Regions from separate parts of the Homo sapiens genome. Here region 2 is linked to region 1. The links are contacts of gene promoters, found by promoter capture Hi-C in human tissues and cell types (Jung and others, 2019). All regions are on one chromosome and are shown on one strand. The core of a region is centred on a gene start or on the middle of the fragment in contact, and the rest is flanking DNA. Distances in the headings are between cores, read along the strand shown. Region 1 holds the start of FOXK2 (forkhead box K2). Region 2 overlaps TBCD (tubulin folding cofactor D).

What was found. The method cuts DNA at HindIII sites, captures the fragments that hold promoters and counts their contacts. A contact is called where the count stands out against the background at its distance.
Region 2: a fragment that was not itself captured here is called in contact with the fragment with the promoter of FOXK2 in region 1 in 2 of the 25 tissues and cell types used here (dorsolateral prefrontal cortex and lymphoblastoid cells).

The regions. Positions count from the first base shown.
Region 1 is chr17:82,516,932-82,521,958 of GRCh38, reverse strand. FOXK2 (forkhead box K2) reads right to left here and starts at 2,227. Exons shown (of 9, transcript NM_004514.4): 1 at 1,652-2,227. The coding sequence starts at 2,070. RefSeq lists silencers at 1,388-1,437, 1,518-1,697, 2,148-2,807. The HindIII fragment of the contact is 19,651 bases long and covers 1-5,027 here.
Region 2 is chr17:82,764,144-82,769,170 of GRCh38, reverse strand. TBCD (tubulin folding cofactor D) reads right to left here. Exons shown (of 39, transcript NM_005993.5): 4 at 2,803-2,904; 5 at 605-751. Among named protein-coding and RNA genes, the nearest start is that of TBCD, 15 kb to the right of the region's middle. The HindIII fragment of the contact is 4,126 bases long and covers 264-4,389 here.

The DNA of each region.
Region 1 (5,027 bases), core at 978-3,477:
TTGAAAATTTCTTTTTTTTTTTTGAGGCGGAGTCTTCCTCTGTCCCCCAGGCTGGAGTGCAGTGGTGCGATCTCGCTGGCTGCAAGCTCCACCTCCAGGGTTCACATTCTCCTGCCTCAGCCTCCTGAGTAGCTGGGACTACAGGCGCCCGCCACCGCGCCCGGCTAATTTTTTTTTTTTTTTTGTATTTTTAGTAGAGACGGGTTTCACCGTGTTAGCCAGAATGGTCTCGACCTCCTGACCTCGTGATCCACCCGCCTCGGCCTCCCAAAGTGCTGGGATTACAGGCGTGAGCCACCGCGCCCGGCCTGAAAATAACATTCTTTAAAATGCTACTACCAAAGTTTAAGGAATATGCTGGTGCACCTTTCCATGCTAAGAAACAGAACAGCGCATGCACACACACACAACACGCAAGTCAAGAAGAAAAGCAACAGCTCTTACCAGCATCTCCAACAACCGAAAGCGTTAAAAATTCCAATTTGTAGGCCGGGCGCGGTGGCTCACGCCTGTAATCCCAGCACTTTGGGAGGCCGAGGCGGGTGGATCACGAGGTCAGGAGTTCAATACCAGCCTGGCCAAGATGGTGAAACCCCGTCTCTACTAAAAATACAAAAAATTAGCCGGGCGCGGTGGCAGGCGCCTGTAATCCCAGCTACTCGGGAGGCTGGGGCAGGAGAACCACTTGAACTCAAAGGGCGGAGATTGCAGTGAGCCAAGATCGCGCCACTACACTCCAGCCTGAGCGACAAAGTGAGCCTCCGTCTCAAAAAACAAAAAACAAAAAAATTCCAGTTTGTGTGGACAAAGGCTGTACTTGCAATGATCTAGAAGTGAGCCCCTGAGGAATAATTAGCATTTCCTAGACAGCAAGTTTGTGTTTCAAGCAGAGTAAACGATAACTTCATAAAACCACAGGACCAAGCTAAATTGTTTTGTAGCAGGATAGGCAGTTCCCTATCAGGCTGACTTAACACTCTACATGACCTTGTAATAATTCCTAATCAACTGTCTTTTTGTAGAAGTTATGCGAAAAGCATCTAGTTTTCCCTAAATTTTAAGGTTCAGAGCACAGATTGAAAATCCATCATGCTTGAAGCGTCTTCCAATTTGGCCTACTGAAAACACGGCAGGGAAAAAGGAGTCCTTCCTGCTTAAAACACCGCACTCTTGAAACAGCTCACTACTGAAAACGACTGAACAACAACAACAACAAAAGACAACAGACAACCCTTCATCGGTTAAGAGACATAGATTTTAGTTCGGGGCAGTTCCTCCCACCGCACACCGTTTTCACATTTCTGTTCAGCGCGACCTCGCTGCAGAATAGAAACAGCACACGTGAACTCCCCGCACGCACAGAACCCAGAAACCTTGACCCGCGCGCGCAGCCGCCCGCAGCCCCGGCTCCAGGAAGGGGGAAAGACGGGGGGCTGCACCTGCCAGGAAGGGGACCGGGAGGACGGGGGTCGGGGCCAGGGGCTGTCGAGGGTTGGGATCCAGCCGGGGCCTGGGTCCCGCTGGTGGTCCCGGCTGTGGGAGAGTCGGGCCCCCGCTCGTGGGTGGTCCCGGGCCTGGGCGCGTGTCCCGTCCCGTCCTGCCAGGCGCTGCAGGCCGCAGACCCCGCCCGCCCCGCCCCGAGGCCACTCACACGCGCGGCAGCTGCAGCGGCGGCGCCCCGCGCCTCTGGAACACGCCGTCCACGAATACCCCGTTCTTGCCCAAGCAGCGCAGGTAGAAGTCGCCGCCGGCGTCGGGCCTGGGCTGCGCGGGCGGCAGCTCCGGAGCGGCCCCGCCATGGCCGCCGCCGCCCGGGGGCGTGAAGATCTCGAGGTGGCGCCGGGAGATGAAGCTCGAGTGGCCCATGCTCACGTCCACCGAGCCCTGCGACGAGTTGCGGCCGATGGTCACCGAGCGCTTCTTCATCAGATACTCGAACTCGCGGCCCTCCAGGCGCGCCACGGCCCAGCCGCCCGGCGGGGACCCGCCGCCCCCGGCCCCGCCGCCCCCGGCCCCGCCGCCCGCGGGTGGCGTGCCCGCGCCCGAGAGCGCCGCCGCGGCCGCCGCCATGGGCCTGCGTGAGGGCCCCCGGGCCGCTCCGCGCGGGCGCCGGTGGCGCGGGCCGAGGCCCAGGCCGCGCGGGTCGTCGGCCGCCGCGCACCGGAGCTGAGGGAGGGGGCCGAGCGGAGGCCGCCGGCCGGCGAGCGAGCGAGCGGCGGCGAGGGGCGGGAGCACGCGCGGCCGCGCCACCGAGCCGGCACGCCGGGCCCGCCCCTCGCTGACGGACGGTTACGCCGGCCAATGGGGGCGGCGTACGGCAGTGGGGCTACCGAAGCAGGCCAATGGCAAGACACGTCGCACCAAGCTGCCGGCACGTCCGGCGGCGACGCCCGACGCAGTCCCGACTCCGGGCGCCGCGGAAAACCCGGGGCGGACAGTCGGCAGCCCGCGCGGGATCGGGGCTGGCGCGGGGTTGGCGCGGGCGCGGGAGCTCGGGGGTCTGAGCCCGGCCTGGCAGCGCCTTAGGCGCGGCGGGCGGGACCAGGCCCAAGGTCACAGCGGGCGCCAGGCACGCAGCGGCCCCCAACCCGGCGTGGACGCCGGGGTGCGGATAGGCGGCGGCCCGCGAGCCCAGGCCCGGCCGCCGAGCGGCCTTTTCCCCGCGAGGTGCGGGAATATCGCGGAGGGGCCGCGTGCCGCGTGGCCTCAGACCCAGGGGACCCGGTGACACGTTCGTTTTTAACCAGCAGCTCCAGGACTGGATGTCGTTATCTTTCCTGGCTAGCGAGTCATGTCATTGTGTCAAAACTGTCCTGCAAAATACGCAGAAGTTCTGAATCACATTTACTTAACTGTCGTCAGCACACAGTTTAAAAATATACACGAGGCCGGGCGCGGTGGCTCACGCCTGTAAGCCCAGCACTTTGGGAGGCCGAGGCGAGCGGATCACCTGAGGTCAGGAGTTCGAGACCAGCCTAGCCAACATGGTGAAATCCCAGCTCTACTAAAAATACAAAAAAAAAAAAAAAAATAGCCGGGTGTGGTGGTGCACACCTGTAGTCCTAGCTACTCAGGAGGCTGAGGCAGGAGAATTGCTTAAACCTGGGAGGCGGAGGCAGGAGAATTGCTTCAACCTGGGAGGTGGAGGTTGCAGTAAGCCGAGATCGCGTCACTGCACTTCAGTCTGGGCAACAAGAGTGAAACTACGTCTCATATGTATATATATGAACTATATATATGTGAACTATATATATATATATGAACTATATATATATGAACTATATATATATGAACTATATATATGAACTATATACATATATGAACTATATATATATGAACTATATATATATGAACTCTCATGAACGAATAGTTAATATCTTAACCAATCTGATACTAAGTTTTTAAAAAAAGAATTTCGCCACCGTTTAAAAAATTACAAGATCCCATCTAAATCAAGATGATCAATAGTCCAGATGTTCACTAATCAATGAAACTCCTAACATTAAAAAGAAAAAATCCTGTGGCCGGGCGCGGTGGCTCACACCTGTAATCCCAGTGCTTTGGGAAGCCGAGGCGGGTGGATCACAAGGTCAGGAGTTCAAGACCAGCCTGCCCAACATAGTAAAAGCCCGTCTCTACTAAAAATACAAAAATTAGCCAGGCATGGTGGGGCGTGCCTGCAGTCCCAGCTACTTGGGAGGCTGAGGCAGTAGAATCGCTCGAACCTGGGAGGCGGAGGTTGTGGTGAGCAGACATCACGCCACTGCCCTCCAGCCTGGGTGACAGAGGAGACTCCGTCTCAAAAAAAAAAAAAAAAAAAAAAATTGGGAAAAGAAAGAAAAAATCCTGTAAATGTATCTCACGGGTACTTAACCAGTTGTGGAGACGTTCAAGGTTCAGGATCATGAAAAGTCTACAACCTCTTAAACAGGAAGAATTCCGTGGGAAGTCAGTGTCAGCCCTAGAAACCATGGCTTGGGCTCCAAGCGCGCATCTTCGCAAAACTGAAATAGCAACAAATGGTACCAATTTAGTCTCTGCTGGGGAGGGACTGCCCCCTGAATTGTCTCACTTCTTTCAGCATGGTGGTTCCTGCAGGGTGTGTGAGGAGAAGATCCTATTATAGCCTATATATACAGGTTATAGCAAACACCCCAGGGTTCCTCTATTTGCTGCTTGTTAAATAGCAAAGAACAATTAGAAGAGAGAAATGATATAATTTAGGTACAGAGGCCTGGCACGGTGGCTCATGACTGAATCCCAACACTTTGGGAGGCCGAGGTGGGTGGATCACTTGAGGTTAGAAGTTGGAGACCAGCCTGGCCAACATGGTGAATCCACATATCTACTAAAAATACAAATATTAGCTGGGTGTGGTGGCACGTGCCTATAATCCCAGCTACTTGAGAGGCTGAGGCAGGAGAATCGCTTAAACGCGGGAGGCGGAAATTGCAGTAAGCAAGCGGAGATTGCACCACTGCATTCCAGCCTGGGTGACAAAGCCAGACTCTGTCTCGAAAATAATCATCATCATCATAATGTAGGTACAAAAGGAGTTTAGTGTGAGTAGAAAGACTTGAGACTGGACTTAAACGGAGCAGGATAAAGTGGAGATCCTGAACAGGAACCACCAACTGGGGGCCCCAGGCAGGAGACATCAGGGTCAGTTCATGCATTTTTATTCCTTCAATGTGTAAAAACTTTTTCTAAAAGAAATGGAAATTAATGTGTCCCTCTGAATGTAACATTTACATGTCTTTTTTTTTTTTTTTTTTTTTTTTGAGTGGAGTTTTGCCCTTGTTGCCCAGGCTGGAGTGCAATGGTGCGATCTTGGCTCACTGCAACCTCCACCTCCCAGGTTCAAGTGATTCTCCTGCCTCAGCCTCCCAAGTAGCTGGGATTACAGGTGCTCACCACCACGCCTGGCTAATTTTGTATTTTTAGTAGACGAGGTTTCACCCTGTTGGCCAGGATTGTCTCGATCTATTGACCTCGTGATCCACTTGCCTGGGCCTCCCAAAGTGCTG
Region 2 (5,027 bases), core at 1,077-3,576, 250 kb before region 1:
GGGCAAGCTTGACACAAAGGACCCAGCTCAGCCATGCCAGACTCCCGACCCACAGAAACTACAAGAGGATAAATGTGTGTCAAACACTCAAGTTTGGGGTAATTAGTTATGATCCAATAGATAACTAATACAATAAGCTGTGTTTATATGCATAATATTTACATCAGGAAAAGTTCGGAGAAAATAAACAACTTATCTCTTGGCACTAGAATTTCATAAATTTAAATTTAGTATTTTTCTTGCTTATCTTTATTTTCTAGTTCTCCTACAAATGAGCATCTATTATTTATATAACGTTAAGAACTAAATGTAAAATGGGTCCTTATTCTCTCTCACCATGCCACTAAACCCTTCCTTATCTGCCATGATTACCCTCAACAGAGTATTTGCATCATCTACAAAGAAATGAGATTTGCTAACTCAACCTGACCCCTACATGAATTATCACAATTTCAAAATAAGTTATCCTATGGGATTTTACCCCACTGAAAAAAACAGCAGTTGAATACATATCAGAAGCTTACCGAGTAAACCACTAACATCAAGACAGCATGAACATGAAAGTGAGTACTAATTAGCAGCTAATTATCTGCATGATATTTACCTCTGCTATTTGGAGAATACGGTCCATTATGGACATTCGTGCTTGCCCAGGCTGGGTGAGGAGGTTCCCGTCAAGGCGAGAAAAATCAAAAGGGATCAGGCAGGTCACGGAGAGCCAGAGCAAAAGCATGTAGCGGGTTTCCCAAGCCTAAAAAATTAAACCACGGGAAGAATGAGTCTTGCTTGAAAATCACAGGCCACTGGCCACAATCTACTCAAAGTCACTGCCCTCCATGCCCACCCAATGCCTATGAAAGCCATTCAAATGCCATCACCCTCAGGGCCAGAAATGCAAGCCGTTCACCAACTCCTCGCCACATCCCCCCCGGAATCCCCACCACACACACCTACCGCCGTAACTTAGCTCAGCAGACAAGAGAGACATCAAAATGAACAAAGAAAAATCATAATACATCAGTATAGCAGCTTCTCTTCGCTGGCACCTCTCCACATACAAACTGGCCTTTTGAAAAAGTGAAAAACAGATAAAAAGTAAAAACACCTAAGAATAAAGAAAAAAGGCCAGGTGTGGTGGTTCACACCTGTAATCCCAACACTTTGGGAGGCCGAGACGAGCGGATCACCTGAGGTCAGGAGTTCCTTTTTTTTTTTTTGAGATGGAGTCTCGCTCTGTTGCCCAGGCTGGAGTGCAGTGGCGCAACCTCGCTCACTGCAAGCTCCACCTTCCGGGTTCACGCCATTCTCCTGCCTCAGCCTTCTGAGTAGCTGGGACTACAGGCGTTTGCCACCATGCTAGGCTAATTTTTGTATTTTTTGTAGACACAGGGTTGCACCGTGTTAGCCAGGATGGTCTCGATCTCCTGACCTCGTGATCCGCCCACCTTGGCCTCCCAAACTGCTGGGATTACAGGCACGAGCCACCGTGCCTGGCCGAGGTCAAGAGTCCTAAACCAGCCTGACCAACATGGAGAAACCCTGTTTCTACTAAAAATACAAAATTACCCTGGCGTGATGACACATGCCTGTAATCCCAGCTACTCAGGAGGCTGACACAGGAGAATCGCTTGAACCTGGGAGACAGAGGTTGCAGTGAGCCAAGATTGTGCCATTGCTCTCCAACCTGGGCAAGAAGAGTGAAACTCTGTCTTTTTAAAAAAAAAAGAATAAAGAAAACAATTATCAACTTCTAATAAAAAAGGAGTACCCTTATTTTCAGTAATTAGTAAAAAACATCCCAATTTGTCCCTGCAATCATTCCACTGGGGGGCGCTAGAAGTACTAGGGAAAGAAGGGCACGGAGTGCAGGGCAGCAGGGAAATGCCCCACAGCGCTCATCAGTCACATCCACGCCGAGACAAGCCACCGCACTGCACGGTTATAAACCGTGTGCTCCTCCAAATACATACCACGCAGAAGACAGCGAGCATAGCAGGCCCCGCTGCCGTCTGAGGCAAGGCCCCTGACGAGGCCGGCCCTGGGCTGGTATCCAGGGACCTGGACACCAGCAGGGTTCCCACCAAGCCCTGCCTGATGAGGTCCCTCGCTGGCTCAATCTGCACAAACCGTGTGCTTTACGCTGGCACCTGCTTTCCTGCTGGGGGTCTGGAATTTCGTTTCGTGCCAGGCAGAGGTGTCCATGTGGCCAGACCCCAGTGAAAGCTCTGGGCACCAAGTCTCAAACGTGCTTCTCTGATAGACACCTCACAGGTGTGGTCACATCTCACTGCTGGGGGAATGACACAGGCCCTGTGGGACCCAACTGGAGGACCCCGGGAGCTCCCGCCTGGTTCTCCCCAGACCCCACCCATGTGCCTTTTCCCTTTGCTGATTTTGCTGTGTATTATTTTGCCATAACAAGTGACAGCCAAAAGGAGGACTCTATGCTGAGTGCTGTGAGTCCCGCTCAGGAAGTATCAAACCTGGGGGTGGTCTTGGGAACCCAACACAGTTATACTTACACAGTTAAAAAAACATAGAAACAATGACGGATTTATTGTTAAACTACACCTAGGCATAATTTTTTTTATAAAGGGGCTATTTTAAACGAAAATAATTTAAAGCAACTTGTACAAGAAGTAAAGGAAAAGTGAAAAGAAAAGAAAGAAAAGAGGAGTGACACAAAACAAAGGGAGATAAAATGAAAGAAACAGGAAGGGGAAGGTGCAGCAGGGTGGGGCAAGCAGGGAGGAAGGACAGGCACGGAGGGCTGGAGACGAGGGGGGAGGCAGAGACACTCACTTCATGGTCCTTGGGATTCTGAATTGTGACCAAATCTAAAACAGGCTCTACATCGGCAACTTCATGAGGAAATAAACGAAGAAATGTTTTATAGCCTCGAACCTATCAAATAAAGAGATGCTGAATTATAACATTTAAAAATACAGAGAGCAGCAAAATTGCCTTTCTACCCTTTCATCAAAAATCACCAGCTACGCGACCCACTGATCAAAGAGAATTCTGTGACATTACAGTGACACAATTTAGTAAGACCGTAGTCACCCCAAGAAAGCTACCCATGGCCAAGAGCGATGGCTCACACCCGTAATCCCAGCACTTTGGGAGGCCGAGGCAAAAGAATAGCTTGAGACCAAGAGTTGGAGACTAGCCTGGGCAACATAAAAAATTAAAAATTAGACAGGATGGTGGCACATGCCTGTAGTCTGAGAGGATGAGGCAGGAGGGAGAATCATTTGAGACCAAGAGTTCGAGGCTGCAGTGAGCTGACTGCATCACTGCACTCTAGCCTGAGTGACAGAGCAAGACCCCATCTCTCAAAAAAAAAGATTTCCTTCCTAAATTGGTAGTGTTATTCATTACCATATTTACGGAATCAGTCATTAAATATGTTCATTTATATGACTGTCCTCTGACATTTATGAGGAATAAGTGCCTACAAACCGCAAGGGCCCAAATTCATTAACACTTCCCTGAAGCTCAGTGATACCACGCCTTCCGGAGAAATCCTAACCTCAAACAGAGGAGCTACAGAGGCCTGCGTGTCCTTGGCAGCTCACCCGCAGTGTCCTCTCGCTGGCCAAGGACTTTCCCGCCAGACAACAGAAATGCGCCTCGCCACTACGAACCCCAAGCCCCACCCTGAGACGGCTGTGAGTACTTCCATAGTCAAAACTGCCAACAGTGAGCCTCTGGGCCAGCACACAGACACCCGCAAGCTTGTAAGAAAAGCAGACTATGAGCACAGACACCCGCAAGCTTGTAAGAAAAGCAGACTATGAGCAGACACCCGCAAGCTTGTAAGAAAAGCAGACTATGAGCACAGACACCCGCAAGCTTGTAAGAAAAGCAGACTATGAGCACAGACACCCGCAAGCTTGTAAGAAAAGCAGACTATGAGCACAGACACCCGCAAGCTTGTAAGAAAAGCAGACTATGAGCACAGACACCCGCAAGCTTGTAAGAAAAGCAGACTATGAGCAGACACCCGCAAGCTTGTAAGAAAAGCAGACTATGAGCACAGACACCCGCAAGCTTGTAAGAAAAGCAGACTATGAGCAGACACCCGCAAGCTTGTAAGAAAAGCAGACTATGAGCAGACACCCGCAAGCTTGTAAGAAAAGCAGACTATGAGCACAGACACCCGCAAGCTTGTAAGAAAAGCAGACTATGAGCACAGACACCCGCAAGCTTGTAAGAAAAGCAGACTATGAGCACAGACACCCGCAAGCTTGTAAGAAAAGCAGACTATGAGCACAGACACCCGCAAGCTTGTAAGAAAAGCAGACTATGAGCACAGACACCCGCAAGCTTGTAAGAAAAGCAGACTATGAGCACAGACACCCGCAAGCTTGTAAGAAAAGCAGACTATGAGCACAGACACCCGCAAGCTTGTAAGAAAAGCAGACTATGAGACCCCCGCCTAGACCTACTTGCTCAAAATCTATAGCACAGCAAAATTCCCAGGAAATTCATCTGCACATTAAAGTGTGAGAAGCACTTCCATTTCCACAGAGTCTCGCTCTGTCACTCAGGCTGGAGTGCAACAGCATGATCTCGGCTCACTGCAACCTCTGCCTCTCAGGTTCAAGCCATTCTCCCGCCTCAGCCTCCCAAGCAGCTGGGATTACAGTCATGTGCCACCAAGCCCAGCTAATTTTTGTATTTTTAGTAGAGACGGGGTTTCACCATGTTGGCCAGGCTCATCTCGAACTCCTGACCACAGGTGATCCACCTGCCTCAGCCTCCCAAAGTGCTGGGATTACAGGCATGAGCCACCGCACCCGGCCTGCTTTCTCCTTGTAAGAAGTTTTTCTGATTTAGTCTCATCTCCACCCCATTCCCTTCCTAGCTACACAGTGCTTCAATCTATTCAAATGCAAGATGCTGAATATCCTGACACTGTTTCAGCCAAAGAGCCCACATCACTAAATTCTGATCCCCAACATACAGTAAAAAGGGACAGAATTAAACCCACAACTTGTGTCTAAGAACTATCTTTCTTGAGA